Linked DNA regions of Homo sapiens: all the other regions are linked to region 1. The links are contacts of gene promoters, found by promoter capture Hi-C in blood cells and fetal thymus (Javierre and others, 2016). All regions are on one chromosome and are shown on one strand. The core of a region is centred on a gene start or on the middle of the fragment in contact, and the rest is flanking DNA. Distances in the headings are between cores, read along the strand shown. Region 1 holds the start of RBMX (RNA binding motif protein X-linked). Region 2 overlaps ARHGEF6 (Rac/Cdc42 guanine nucleotide exchange factor 6). Region 3 overlaps ARHGEF6 (Rac/Cdc42 guanine nucleotide exchange factor 6).

The links. The method cuts DNA at HindIII sites, captures the fragments that hold promoters and counts their contacts. A CHiCAGO score of 5 or more calls a contact.
Region 2: a contact is called between a fragment that was not itself captured here and the fragment with the promoter of RBMX in region 1, in 1 of 17 cell types (monocytes). The highest score is 5.6, in monocytes.
Region 3: a fragment that was not itself captured here is called in contact with the fragment with the promoter of RBMX in region 1 in 1 of 17 cell types (naive B cells); the score reaches 6.9 in naive B cells.

The regions. Positions count from the first base shown.
Region 1 is chrX:136,878,161-136,882,961 of GRCh38, reverse strand. RBMX (RNA binding motif protein X-linked) reads left to right here and starts at 2,237. Exons shown (of 9, transcript NM_002139.4): 1 at 2,237-2,365; 2 at 3,509-3,643; 3 at 3,839-3,945. The coding sequence starts at 3,535. SNORD61 (small nucleolar RNA, C/D box 61) reads left to right here and starts at 3,691; the gene lies at 3,691-3,763. RefSeq lists enhancers at 2,114-2,712, 2,382-2,841, 2,852-2,911, 2,713-3,312. The HindIII fragment of the contact is 13,799 bases long and covers 1-4,801 here.
Region 2 is chrX:136,673,521-136,678,321 of GRCh38, reverse strand. ARHGEF6 (Rac/Cdc42 guanine nucleotide exchange factor 6) reads left to right here. Exons shown (of 22, transcript NM_004840.3): 17 at 366-386; 18 at 1,605-1,698; 19 at 3,226-3,315. Among named protein-coding and RNA genes, the nearest start is that of CD40LG, 28 kb to the right of the region's middle. RefSeq lists an enhancer at 4,116-4,175. The HindIII fragment of the contact is 966 bases long and covers 1,877-2,842 here.
Region 3 is chrX:136,697,175-136,701,975 of GRCh38, reverse strand. The region is part of intron 9 of ARHGEF6 (Rac/Cdc42 guanine nucleotide exchange factor 6); the gene reads left to right. Among named protein-coding and RNA genes, the nearest start is that of CD40LG, 51 kb to the right of the region's middle. The HindIII fragment of the contact is 3,550 bases long and covers 1,193-4,742 here.

The DNA of each region.
Region 1 (4,801 bases), core at 988-3,487:
TATAAGTGGCACCTCACTGTGTTCTCACATGGTGGACAGGGGCCTCTTTTATAAAAGTGTTAATCCCATTCATGAGGACCCTACCCTTTTGTGACCTAATCTTCTCCCCAAATCCCCGCCTCCTAATGCCATCACCTTGGGTATTAGGATTTCAACATATGAATTTGGGGGAGGACACAAACATTTAGACCATAGCACCATTAAACACGATACCTATCATATTCATCTAACAATTGTTCTTTCCTCCCCGTGTCCACTGCCGCCACCCTGATTCAAGCCACCATCCTCTCTTTCTGGTCTGCTCCCACAGCCCTATTAGTGTCCTTTTTCCCACACTTACCCCCTACAGTCATTTAATGGGCTCAAAGGTCCTGCCAATCTTGGCTCCCTCATTTCATGCCCCTCATATTCTTGTCACCTGGCCCTCTTTCTGTCCCTTGATATATGCCAAGCTCTTCCTCTCTACTTTGTGTTTACTATTCTCTTCTTTTCCTGAAGGTTTTTCCCTCAGCTGTTCCCATAGCTAGTTTCTTTTCTTCCTTCAGCTCTGATCTCCAAAGTCACCTCTTCACATAGACCTTCCCTGATGTTTTAATCAAATTTGTTCTCCCTAATATTGTCCATCAAAGCAACTAGTTTATTTCCTCCCTGGCATTAATCACAACATGCCATTCTTTTGTTAATTGTATTCAATTTCTTTAAGAAAAAAATTAAAAAATTTTTTGGTTTCCCCCCTCAACAAGTAGGATGGGCAGATGAAATATAGAATGCTCAGTTAAATTTGAATTTCCGATAAACAGCGAATTTTTAAAATATGAGATTTGGGACATACTATACTAAAAAAAGTATTCGTTATCTGAAATTTAAACTTAACTGGGCGTCCCTTTTTTTTTTTTTAGACGAAGTCTCGCTCTGTTGCCAGGCTGGAGTGCAGTGGTATGATCTTGGCTCACTGCAACCGCCGCCTCCTGGGTTCAAGCAATTCTCCTGCCTCAGCCTCCCGAGTAGCTGGGACTACAGGCACACGCCGCCACGCCCGGCTAATTTTTTTATTTTTTATTTTTATTTTAGTAGAGACGGGGTTTCACCATGTTGCCCAGGCTGGTCTCAAACCCCTGAGCTCAGGCAATCTGCCCGCCTCGGCCTCCCAAAGTGCTAGGATTACAGGCATGAGCCACCGCGCCCCGGCCGCGTCCCATATTTTTATTTAAAATTTTTTAACAGCTTCGCAGAATAAATTAGCGTCCCGCATTTTCTTTTTTATTTTGAGACGGAGTCTCGCTCTGTCGCCTGCCCAGGCTGGAGTGCGGTGGCGCAGTCTTGGCTCACTGCAACCTCCGCCTCCCGGATTCTCCTGCCTCAGCCTCCCGAGTAGCTGGGACTACAGGCGCGTGCCACCACGCCTGGGTAATTTTTTGTATTTTTAAAAAGAGACGGGGTTTCACCGTGTTAGCCAGGATGGTCTCCATCTCCTGACTTCGTGATCCACCGACCTTGGCCTCCCAAAGTGCTGGGATTACAGGCGTGAGCCACTGCACCCGGCCTGGTATTTTCATTTATTAAATCCGGCATCCTTACCCACAGGCCTGACTCTTGTCTTTTCCCTGGAGTTGTATTTTCCTGGCCTAGCCCAGAGCCCACCATTTACAAGGTGCTCAGTAATTGTTCTATATGAATGTACTATCTGCATGCTGTTTTGTACGTTTTTTACTCATCTGAAATTTACATGTATTTATCAGAAATTCCCACACTCACTAAAAACACTTGTTAAAGACAATTTTTGAAAATATATTATATTGCCAAAACTTCTTTGTTTTCCGTTTCTGCAAAATTGGTATAGTAGGAGTATCTACCCTCATCACATTTTGACAATTAGAAGAGTTAATGGAAAAGTAAAAGTAAAGTTTTGCACCGTGCCCGGCCCACTAGGACGCTCAATAAACTTCAGTTCTTTATTAAAGGAAGCCTGTGCACCATTTTAGCGTAAAGCAAAAAAAGCGCGTTTGTAAAGAACGGGTGGGGGTAGAGAAAACGGTTAGAAAGGTCTGTCGACCCAACACCGAGGGCCCGGGAAAAAGGGAGGAGAGAAGGGTGAATGACAGAGGAGCCAGCCAATGGGGAGACTGGGAACTACTTCCCCCCTCCCTTTGCGTTTCAAATTCTAAGCTCCGTTTCCATCCGGGTCCTTCAGCCTCGTTCCCGGGCAGTATAAAGTTTGCTGTCTCCTTTGTTCGCCCTCGTTGCGCAGTAGTGCTAGCGGCTTCGCGGTTCGGTCCTCGCACCCGGCAGCCGCCACTGGTGCTGAGCTGCTAGGAAGCCCCTATCGCCGAGCTCGTTGGAGCTTGAACCCATTGTCACCCCTCCGGTACGTGTCTCCTTTCCTCAGTCCGTTTTTCGTGACACTCTCCCCGTGTTAGGACTGGGGATTATATCTCCCTGGAGATGGGGGTGGCGGGCGCCATTTTAAGAACCCAAAGGTTCCGACCTATTTAAATAAAGCTGAGGGGGTCGAGGGAAAACAAATGAGGGGGCCCGTTTGGTTGTATGCTTCTCGAGAAAGTTTGGCTGCCATCTGCGGGAGTTGGTAGCGGAGGTCGGGGCTTTGTAGGCTGGAGCGGGGCGAGGAGCGACCGCACCACGGCGATACCTGCATTGGTATGGCGCTGGCGCTAATGATGGGCATGTGGACTTCCATGCGGGCTGCGGGCTTCGTATTCATTGGCGGCCCCGGAGAAGAAGCCCTCTGAATGTTCCCAGCCAATGTTGGTGGTAAAAGTTAGTCCCCTGACCAGTGTCGGTGGTTCTGGGTTGAATCCAAGTGTCGCCATTTTGTCTTTTACACGCGGTTTTTAATGACGAGTTTTAATTAGGTTCCGCTGCAGTCACGGAGTGTCGAGTGTTAGTGTGTGCGTCCGCGTTCCGTTACTTAATAGCAAACGATGTTGACGATTTGTTTTTATCTTTTTGGCCGGATAGTAGAATTTTCGGTAGGGCGGGGGCCGGTGAAGAAGAGGGGCGGCATAACTTGGCTTAAACTTCACATTTCTCCTTGGATTTAGTAGGGAATCCTAATGAGGAAAAGAGGAGTCGTTGGAAGAGGGCTTGGTGTTAAGGTCCTGTGTCTAGCCTGTGACCTTGGGAGTCTTTTAAAACCATCGTTAGGAAGGGTGTGATGAGTAATTGAATCTTTCAAAGGCAAGAGGACTGGAACTAAAAGTTGCTTTTTCAAATGTTAAGCAGCTGTTGCTTAAGAACAGCTAAGGGTGATCAAGGGTAGTGGTAAAAGTTAAGTTGGCCCTTTTAACCAGTTTTATGTAAATTGCAGTGTTACTAAACTACTTAGTTCAAATTGCTTCCTACTGTGGCTGAGGCTTAGCTCGTTATCGTTTTCTTTAGTTATTAAGGAACAATGGTTTTAGTGGAAAATATGAGAAATGTGCGAAAGTAAAAGTGTCCAATAAACTTGAGGAACTTTTTGCAGTGAGGTAATACTATTCCTTTTCAACAGACTCACCGGCCCAAAAAAAAAAAAACATGGTTGAAGCAGATCGCCCAGGAAAGCTCTTCATTGGTGGGCTTAATACGGAAACAAATGAGAAAGCTCTTGAAGCAGTATTTGGCAAATATGGACGAATAGTGGAAGGTGAGTTGTCTGGCAGTACAGGCTGGGCTATTATAATTAAAATATAAGCTATGATGAATTTGATTGCATTGATCGTCTGACATGATAATGTATTTTTGTCCTCTAAGAAGTTCTGAGCTTTCTGTTTACACATTTACTTTGGTTATTTCATTTGACCTAGGGTAACACTTTATTTTTCTGAAAACTACTTTTTAGTACTCTTGATGAAAGACCGTGAAACCAACAAATCAAGAGGATTTGCTTTTGTCACCTTTGAAAGCCCAGCAGACGCTAAGGATGCAGCCAGAGACATGAATGGAAAGGTGAGATTGTCTACACGATGGATGATAACCTGTTACTAGTGCATAAAATAACATGTAGTTGTCCAAGTCTGGTCTAGGACAGCTTTTGAGTTTTCGTTGTTTTTCAGTATATACCTGTCTGGGATCCACTCATCCTGTTTGTGATCCTGTTCCAAAGAGTATTCTGTAATTGCAGAACCAAATCTAGTAGTGAGTTATATCTTATGCTCGTAACATTCTCTCAGTTCAGAATAATTATGGCATTACATGGTACTTTTTTTTTTTTTTTTTTGATAGTCTCCCTCCGTTGCCTAGCCTGGAGTGCAATGGTGCAGTGCCCACTGCAGCCTGTCTCCCGAGTTCTAAGCGATTTTTCTGCCTCAGCCCCCCCCCCCCCCCCCAGTAGCTGGGATTACAGGCATGCGCGACCACGCCCGGCTAACTTTGTATTTTTAGTAGAGACAGGGTTTCACCATGTTGGCCAGGCTGGTCTCAAACTCCTGACTTCAGGTGATCCAGCTGCCTCCGCCTCCCAAAGTACTGGGATTACAGGTGTGAGACACTGCGAGCCACTGCGCCCAGCCAACATGATACATTTTATCTTGAGATCCATAAGCCATATTTTGATAACTTGGCTTTTGGTTTTGGCTACTAGTTTTGATAACAAGCTGATACCTACTTGGCCTTGTTTTAAATTTTACCATACAATAATGCAGTGGGTTCACCTTATGTTTCAATCCAGATCATCAGTATCGGTTTTAAGTATTAAGAATTTTAAGCGGAAAAGCCCCATTTATGTAAACTGACTATATTTGCAGTGTTTTTTCTTAGACTAATGAGCAACACTTACCCATAACTGCATTTTGAAGGACCAGTT
Region 2 (4,801 bases), core at 1,110-3,609, 200 kb after region 1:
AATTAAGGGTGAGCTTTGAAGAGTAAAGTTGACTTAATCCTTCACAAAACTAATCTATTAAAACTAAGGCATGATCACTTTGTTTCTGCTGGGGGAAGAGAGTTATTAATATATTCCTACTAGATAGTATGTATTTCAGTTGTTTTCAGCATTTGTTATTCTGCACAGAACTGTATTCCTCGGGCTTTTGCATGATAATATTGCATCTGAAACTAATGTGGGAAATGTGATTATATTCCCTCTGTGTAATTTATGATAACACTAACATTTCAAATGTTGTTTTAGAATTATTGATAAGTGGATTTGGTCATTATAACCATCGACCTCTCACGCTCATCTTCTCTTTCTTTACATATTCATTTTAGAGGATGTCTTATATCTTAAAGGTAAGGGTAGTACAATATCTTTGGCTTACAGTGACATCATAATGCTGTACTGTAACCTTTGATGAATGAAGCTTTCCCTTATGCTTGTTTTGTCCCTTGTTATAATTGGTGGCTAAAATATGAAGATGCAATTTTGACATGTAAGTACTTTGTTCAAAAAGCAGGCTTGTGTGAAATACATATAAAAATGTCATAATGCCCTAAAATGCCCATTTTCCTGTGTTTTTTTTTAAATTCTGTTTTTTCCTGTTATTTTTGTCATGTGAGAGTTTTTCATATCTGTCTTGTTTTCAAGTGTAAGTACTGTGGCTAAGTGAAATAAATTAAATGATTTGTTTCCTATATTTTTAAGGTACTATTAATAATTAATATCCATGCTCCATGTATACACATTTCTTGGAAAATTGGGATTAGGTGATCATGAGAGTTTTTTCCTAAGTCTAAGGTTGTAATCTGTTTACAGATTATTGGATTAAGGATTAAGGATATTGACAATGAGTATTTTTTTGACCTGCTGGTTACTCATATGGCAAAAACAAATTCAATACATTTATTTTGTCTACTAGTTAAATACATGGCTTTATATATGGATAGTTAAGTTTGGCTGTGGGTGTGTTACTTCTAACCCAAAATTATTTTTTAGGAAATCCTTCATTTGGTTCTTCTCTTTGACTGCGGAAAAATGGCTTAGTCTCTCTGCCTTAATTTTTCTGTCTCACAAATGGAAATTATATTCTTATTTGTGGGACTGTTTCTAAGGCAGAATTATTTAAATAGCTTTGAAGCTCTTTGAAAAGTGATCATTACTACATTAGTGGTTACAGTGGTTATTTAGTTCCCCTAAAACTGTATCAGTGGGGAACGTAAACCAAATTAGGAATACTGTTACGTTTTTAGGGTTGACATCCCTTACTTTCTCTGCAGATGGTTCCCTAAAGCCATTTGGCCTCCTGGAGAATCTGCCACATCTTCAGTAGGCACACTCCACTCTTAGTCCCACCTCTGTGCAAGTTGAGAGGATAATGTCATTGCCTCTGTTTTATTTAACCTTTTAGAGTTTATTGGAACCATTTTAATTGTGCATAGAATTAAACATTGATGTACTCCTAACTGAGACTGTCAAAATAAGAGAGAGGAATTCTACTTAGTTTCATTCATGCTTTTACTTTTGTTTTTGAGGGAGAATTTTAATTCATTAAGAAACCTCTGTCCTCACAGGAGTCTAGTAAAAGCCCTAAAACGATGAAGAAATTTCTTCATAAAAGGAAGACTGAGAGAAAACCATCGGAGGAGGAATATGTGATTAGGAAAAGTATGTGTTTTGTACTTTCTGAAAGTTGTTTATGGATAAATTAACATGAGAATCTTCTTTTATGTGAGGATTTATTTGAAAGCAGATGATTGGAGCAATTTTTTCTTGACATCGTCTTTTACATATAAAGAAGAATGCATGGAAAGCTTTGGTCACTTCTTAAACATTTGAATAAGCTTCTTACGGCTGCACTTCATGTCATCTTAGGCAGATGTCATCTGTATCATTTTTGTGTTGAGTATTTTGCCTCACCTGGTTTAGAACCTCTAAAGGGACCCATTTCCTATGGATACATTTTTTCCCTCTTAGTTTCTGATACTTGAGATATTTTTCTGCAGGGAGATAGACTAAATAGACCCGAAGGCTGAAGTCCTTCCAGAAGTCCCATGCTCAGTGATGCTCTCAGTTACTCAGGGAATCAGCCTGCCCACATCTAGAAACATAGTTTCATTTGGAGACAGACTGCAAAGTCAGTCAGCCAGTCGATATGGACATATTTGGCTATAAGGCTGTGAACAAGGTACTTTGGGACACAAGGTACTTTGGGACACATGTGAAGGAGTAAGTGATGTCTCACAAAGAGGTGACAGAATTGTGTGTATCAGCTGGGAATATAGTTTGGATAAATATTTGCTCCACTTCAGCTTTGGCATGCCCCACCCCCCACCCCACACCTGGTTATGCACACTGGCGTGTTCACAGGGTGCTGCCATCCAGCCATTGCAAGAATGAGTTTGGAGTAGAGGAGAAGGGAGAAGGGAAAATGAGTGACTATGCTGACTGGTTAGAAAATTGGGTGGGGTTGGCCGGGCACGGTGGCTCATGCCTGTAATCCCAGCACTTTGGGAGGCTGAGGCGGGCAGATCACAAGGTCAGGAGATCGAGACCATCCTGGCTAACATGGTGAAACCTCGTCTCTACTAAAAAAAATACAAAAAAAATTAGCCGGGTGTGGTGGCGGGTGCCTGTAGTCCCAACAACTCGGGAGGCTGAGGCAGGAGAATGGCGTGAACCCGGGAGGCGGAGCTTGCAGTGAGCCGAGATCGCGCCACTGCACTCCAGCCTGGGCAAGAGTGTAAGACTCCGTCTCAAAAAAAAGAAAAGAAAAGAAAAGAAAATTGAGTGGGGTTAATGAGGGAAAGCTTCCTAAAGGTGAGCCTTGAAATTTAAAGGAGAGGAAGGCTGGGGTATATTGATGGGAGCTAAGCTAGCAACAAGCTCAGTGCTGTGATTTTGGCCTCACTGAGACCACTGACAAAACACCGCCCCCCCCACCCCGGTCCCAGTGTAGAGCTCTGGGCTTCAGGAGTAGGCCCTCCACTAAGCTGAGCTCACTGAGGCTGACTCCAAAGCTCCATGAGGATGCTGTCACTCTTCTCCATCACCAGCGTTGGACAGCTCTTTCTCCTGCCTTTCACAAACTCTACTGGTCAGAGAAGCCAGTCCCAGGCAGTGGAGTGTGCTGCATCATTTTGAGGGTCCAAAAGCATATATCTATGAAAAGTCATGATGAATTAAATTTCACAGGTACAGCTGCTCTGGAAGAGGATGCTCAAATCCTTAAAGTGATCGAAGCCTACTGCACCAGCGCAAATTTTCAACAAGGCCATGGCTCAAGTAGGTTCCCCCAAACTACTTTCTCTAGTGAGTGACGTTTCTTCCTTACTGTTTAGTGTCTTTTAGAAAAAGAGAAAAGCAACCCGGATGGGTTGCAGGGTGTGGAAAGCAGGTGACTTGGTGCAGAGGAGTGGTGCAGGACTGCATCTTTCAGATAAGGTGGTTTTAGCTACCAAGCGGTTTGTTTACCCACTGTTGTTTTTCACCCAGAAAGAGAGATGCAAGAGTAAAAGAGTTGGAGGTGATAGAAGTGAAAATTTTTTTTTAAAGTTGTTCTCCTTTGAAGTACACAGATACCTTCACCAACACTAGTTAGGAATTAAAGGGCCTAGAGAGTTCCTGTGTCTGTGAACTGATGCTAATCTCTTCTTATAGGCAGATTTGGAAAGGAAGTCAAAATACTATCTTTGATCAGCTGCATATTTAAACGAACAATGCTTCACCAAACTCAAGTTTCAAAGTTGCTCTGAAAATCTGGAAAGGTAGCTGCTTAGCAGAGGTTGTCCAAAATGTATAAAGTTGATCAGGGAGTTATTAGGTTAGGGTATTTCCCCAAACAACTTTCAGGTTACAAACTGAAAGCAAGATAATATTTTCTGATTCATCTTTATGCTTTTAAAAAGACAGGTCACTTCGATTATGTCTTTTGTCTCCCATTATTATAGACATTCAGAATACCTTTTGTGAAGTTTTTGCACCTGCATAAGAAATGAATACTCCATAGTACTCCATTTTGGACATCCAGTGACCAATCATTTGAATGTGGGAGGGGATTTCTTAGGTGCCTTGACATATTCTTTCAAAGTAATGCATCTCTAAGGCTGACATAAAAGAAGCATTCTACTGGGCATGATGGCTCACGCCTGTAATCCAGCACTTTGGGAGGCCAAAGCAGGCAGATCCCTTGAGGCCAGGAGTTCAAGACCAGCCTGGGCAATATGGGAAAACCCTGTCTCTACTAAAAACACAAAAGTTAGCCGGGTGTGATGGCGCACACCTGTAGTCCCAGCTACTTGGGAGGCTGAGGCAGGAGAATCTCTTGAACCCGGGAGGTGGAGGTTGCAGTGAGCCAAGATTGCACCACTGCACTCCAGCCTGGGTGACAGAGTGAGACACCATCAAAAATAAATAAATACAAGAGAACGAGAGGTGGGGGGAGAGAGAGAGAGAGAAAGAGAGAGAGAAAGAAAGCATTCAATGATTCAATGTGAAAGTTGACGCATTTGGCCATGAAGAGAGGACTGTCGCACTCTGCTTCACAGAGAAAACCTGGCTGTGGCTTTGGGCATGCATAGCTCTGATAACATGTTTCAAGGAGCCAGGAGAGGAAAGTGAGGGCAGCTTTAGTTTTGAGAACTAGAGAAGAGAGGGGGACAAAGAGATACCAGAAGCATCCCTTCTACAAAATCTGACCTCATCTCCTCCCGCACCACCTATTTTTATATTTGACAGAGTGGATGGGTCTGCAGCTGGGAAGTGCAGCCAG
Region 3 (4,801 bases), core at 1,718-4,217, 180 kb after region 1:
CAGCACTTTGGGAGGCCGAGGTGGGCGGATCACGAGGTCAGGAGATCGAGACCATCCTGGCTAACACAGCGAAACCCTGTCTCTACTAAAAATACAAAAAATTAGCCGGGCGTGGTGGTGGGCGCCTGTAGTCCCAGCTACTAGGGAGGCTGAGGCAGGAGAATGGCGTGAACCCGGGAGGCGGAGCTTGCAGTGAGCCAAGATGGCGCCACTGCACTCCAGCCTGGGTGACAGAGCGAGACTCCATCTCAAAAAAAAAAAAAAAAAAAAAAAGAAAAATGAAATATTTTGTTTTACCTGGATTTATTATTTTTGATACTTTTTTCCATGTATCCAAGTTTTGTTTGTTGTTTTTAAATCTATATCACTTTCCTTCTCTCTGAAGAACTTCTTTTAACATTTTTGCAAGGCAAGTCATCTGGCCACAATTTCCCACATTTTTTGTTTGTTTGAGAAAGTATTCAGAATTCTAGGTTGTCATTTTTTTCCTTCAACACTTTAAATATTTCATTCCATTCTGTTGTTTGCATGGTTTATAATGAGAAGTCTGATACAATTCTTATCCTTGTTCCTCTACAGGTAAGGTGTTTTTCCCTGTCTGGCTTCTTTCAAGATTTTCTCGTTGCTTTTGCCTTTCTGCAGCTTGAATATGAAATGGCTAGGTGTAGATATGTTTTGCTATATATCCTGCTTGGTGTTCTCTGAGATACCTGGATCAGCAGTTTGGGGTCTGTCAATAATTTTGCAAAATTCTTGGCCTAATAGGGTCAACATTTTAAATATTTCTTCTCTTTTCTCTTTCTTTTCTGTCTATATTCCCATTATGCATGTTACACCTTTTGTACTTGTTCCACAGTTTTTGTGTATTCTCTTCCATTTAAAATTTTTTTCTTTACATTTAAGTTTAGGAAATTTCTATTGACATATCTTGAAGCTCACTGTTTCCTCAGCTATGTTTAGCCTATTTGTTAGACTATCAAAGGCATTCTTCATTTCTGTCACAGTGTTTTTTATTTCAGGCATTTTCTTTTGATCATTTCTTAGTGTTTCTATCACTCTGCTTACATTACCCATCTTTTATTACATGTTGTCTATCTTTATCTGTTAGAACCTTTAACATATTAACCATAGTTATTTTGAATTCCCTAATAATTCCAAAATTTGTGTCATATCTGAGTCTGATTCTAAAGCTTGCTTTGTCTCCTCAGACTGTTTTTTTCTTGCCTTTCAGCATGCCTTGTAATGTTTTGTTGGAAGGCAGACATGATAAATTAAGTAATAGGAACTGAGGTAACTAGGTGTTTACTGTGAGGTTTTCTGTTAATCTGACTAGGATCTTGCCTGTGTTTAATGTTTGCTGTAGCTGTAAGTATGAGGGGCTTTAGATTTTTTTTGTTTCCTTTCCTTCTCTCTTATTAACTTTGGCTTTCTTTCTTTCCTTTCTTTCCTCTTTTTTTTTGTCTCACTGTCTCCCAGGCTGGAGTGCAGTGGCGCGATCTCAGCTCACTGCAACCTTTGCCTCACAGGTTCAAGCAATGTTCATGCCTCAGCCCCCTGAGTAGCTGGGATTACAGGCATGTGCCACCACGCCTGGCTAATTTTTTTGTATTTTTAGTTTAGACAGGGTTTCATGAAGTTGGCCAGGCTGGTCTCAAACTCCTGACCTCAAGTGATCCACCTGCCACAGCCTCCCAATCCTGCTGAGATTGCAGGCCTGAGCCACCGCGCCCTGCCTATCTTTGGGTTTCTTAAGAACTCCTTCTTAAATAGAGTCTGTGTCTTGCAGATCCCTCCCTGTAATCCACTGTTATTATATATTGGGGCCCTGTCAATGTGGTGATAAGGTGTTGGGGAAGGGGACACATTCTATAATGTTATGAACAAGTCTCAATTTTTTAGTAGACCTGAGTCCCTGGAAATTGACCTCCAGAAGCAATTCTTAGCCTTTTTTAGTCCTCTCACATATGGCAGGAAGATGAGAGAGGGCTGAAGCTGGCCTATTGTACCTTCCTCAGGTCAGATAAGACTTGGCAACATAGTTTCCCTTGGAAGACAGGCCTTTGTTTTGGAAAAGGTTCTGGGATTATTTCAAAATGGATGCTCCACCCCGCCCCCACTCCTATCCCAAAACATGAGAGGATTTTTCTCTGATCTTCACTATGGAACATTTTTGGGTTTTTGGATCCCAAACCCACAAAAGCATTGCCCCGCCTCAAGATGGTTCTCCAGGAGCTTTTAAATCTCAAGTTGGGGTCCACATTCAGACTCCAGGAATTCATTAAAATCACTATGCAAGTGTTCCTGCCAGTTACTGGGTCCAGTGGCTTCTGCTTTAGGGAAGCTAATCTCAGCTGTAATTCTCTGTATTCACTGTTTCTCCAGATTTTGAGGTGGTGATTTTTTCTGTGATCTCAATTCTCAGTAAATCTAACAAAAGTCATTGATTTTCAGTTTGTTCAGTATTTTTTTAATTATGACTATAGTGTGATGACTTCCAAGCTCTTTCGATGTCAGAGCTGAAATCAGAAGTGCTTTAATGATTTTTTCACTATATTTTATTTTTTTATTATTTTAAACGTTTTTGTTATAAATTTTCTCTATAATATTTCACTATATTTTGGGGTGTCTTTTAGTGGTTACTCTAAAACTTTCCATATATATCTTATCAGAATGGACTTCATTTTTTATGCTAACTTAATTCTAGTTATATATAAAAATGTGACTCCTGTATAACTGTTTCCTCTTCCCTTTTTGTTATTATTATTATAAATATGAACTCCATATACACAATAATACATGCTATAATTGTTATTTAATTTTATGTCCATTAATACAACTGAGAGAAGAAAGGAAAGGAAAAATATATTTATAGTGTTTGTTATATTAACTTTCTTATTTACCATTTCTATTTCCCTTCATTTTTTCCTGTGAATTTGTGTTACTATCTGGTATTATATTCTTATTCCAACAGACCTTTGCTCCCACCTTTCTCCTTCATGCTGTGGTTTTCAAATATATTAAATTTATGTGTGTATAGGTCCAACAATGAAATTATAAAATTTTGCTTTGGCCAATTGCTTTTATATCAGTTAAGAGAAGAAGAAGCATGTATTTATACTGTCTTTCATAATTGCATATTTACCTTTATTGGTGCTCTTTGTTTTAATATGTGAATTTAAATTTAAGTCTGGGTTTACTTGCTTTCAGCCTGAAGGTCTTCACTGAGTGCTTATTGTAAGGTGGATTTTTAAGAAAGGATTCTCTTAGTTCTTGTCTGGGAATGTTTTCATTCCACCTTCCATTTTGAAAGATAGTTTGGATGAATACAGAATTCTTGGTTGGCAGTTCTGTTTCTTTCAGTACTTTGAGTATGTCATCCCACTGCCTTCTGGCCTCCAAGATTCTGATGAGAAATCAGCTGTTAATATTATCTAGGTTCTCTAGCCCATGACGAGTTGTTCTTCTCTTCCTGCTTTCAGTTTTCTCCTTGACTTTCAGGATTTTTATTATAATTTGTTTGAGTGTGGACCTCTTTGCATTTATCCTACTTGAAATTCATTGAGCTTCTTGTATGTGTGGGTTGATGTTTTTCTCAAATTTGGGAATTTTAGTCATTATTTCTTTGCATATTTTTTCTGCTCCATTCTCTCTCTCCTCTCTTTTTAGTACTTCCATTATGTATATGTTCTTTTGCTTAAAGATTTTCCATATTTCTCTGAGGCTGTATTCGTTTTTCTTTATTCTTTTTTCTCCTTTTTATATTGCATAATCTCTATTGATGTATTTTAAGTTTACAGATTCTTTCTTCTGCCAGTTCAGATCAGCTGTTGAGCCCCTCTAATGAAATTTTAAATTTCAGTTATTTTACTTTTAAACTCTAGAATGTTCATTTGGTTCTTCTTCTTTCTTTTTGTTTACAATTTCAGCATCTTTATGGATGTTCTCTATGTGGTGAGACATTGTCATCATAGCTTCCTTTACTTCTTTAAGCATGGTTTCCTTTTGTTCTTTGCACATATTTATAATGGCTACTTTGAAGACTTTATTAAGTCTGACATTTTGCCTCTTACTGACAATTTCTGTTGTTTCTTATTTGTGTAAGTTACACATTGCTGTTTCTTTGTGTGCCATATTGTTTTTTGTTGTTGAGAACAAGACATTTTAGGTAATTTTAGATTTCACAACTGTGATACTGATTTCATTCCCCACTCTCTGGGACATGTTTTTGTTGTTTGCTTATGTGTTTGTTTAGTAACTCGATTTGACTATTTTAGTGAAGTCTATTTCGCTCACAGAGTACAATCTCTGGTATCGCTCTTCAGAGGGCACAGCCTTGGTCAGGCATGCAGTCACTCTGGAATGACAGTGGTCTTAGCAGAGCTGTCTTTGACTGTCTCACTCCCTGATCTCTCCTTTAAGCCCCGTTTGGTATCACATCCAGGTGTTAGGCTCTCCTAATTTCCAGCTGATTGGCTCTAATATTTTTGATAATTTCATGGGGACATAAATTGCTCCACCATCTGATCTAATTAAGTTCAAGTGGAGACACTTTTTGAGACTAGACTTTGAGGTTTCTTCTGATCCTTCTTAGCACTTCCTGGCTGTCTGTTTCCCTGGTTCTCTCTCTGGTGACCTAGCTGGCCTATGGGTTAGCTTTTTGCACTTAAGTGACAGGAGCTACCTGCCTCCTTTTATTGGCTTACTACCAAAATCTCCTTTGTTTTGGCAAGAGCTCTTAAGCTTGAATATCCCCACATGCCTTTTTTCCAAATAAAACCAATTTCTTCATGGAGAGCTTCAG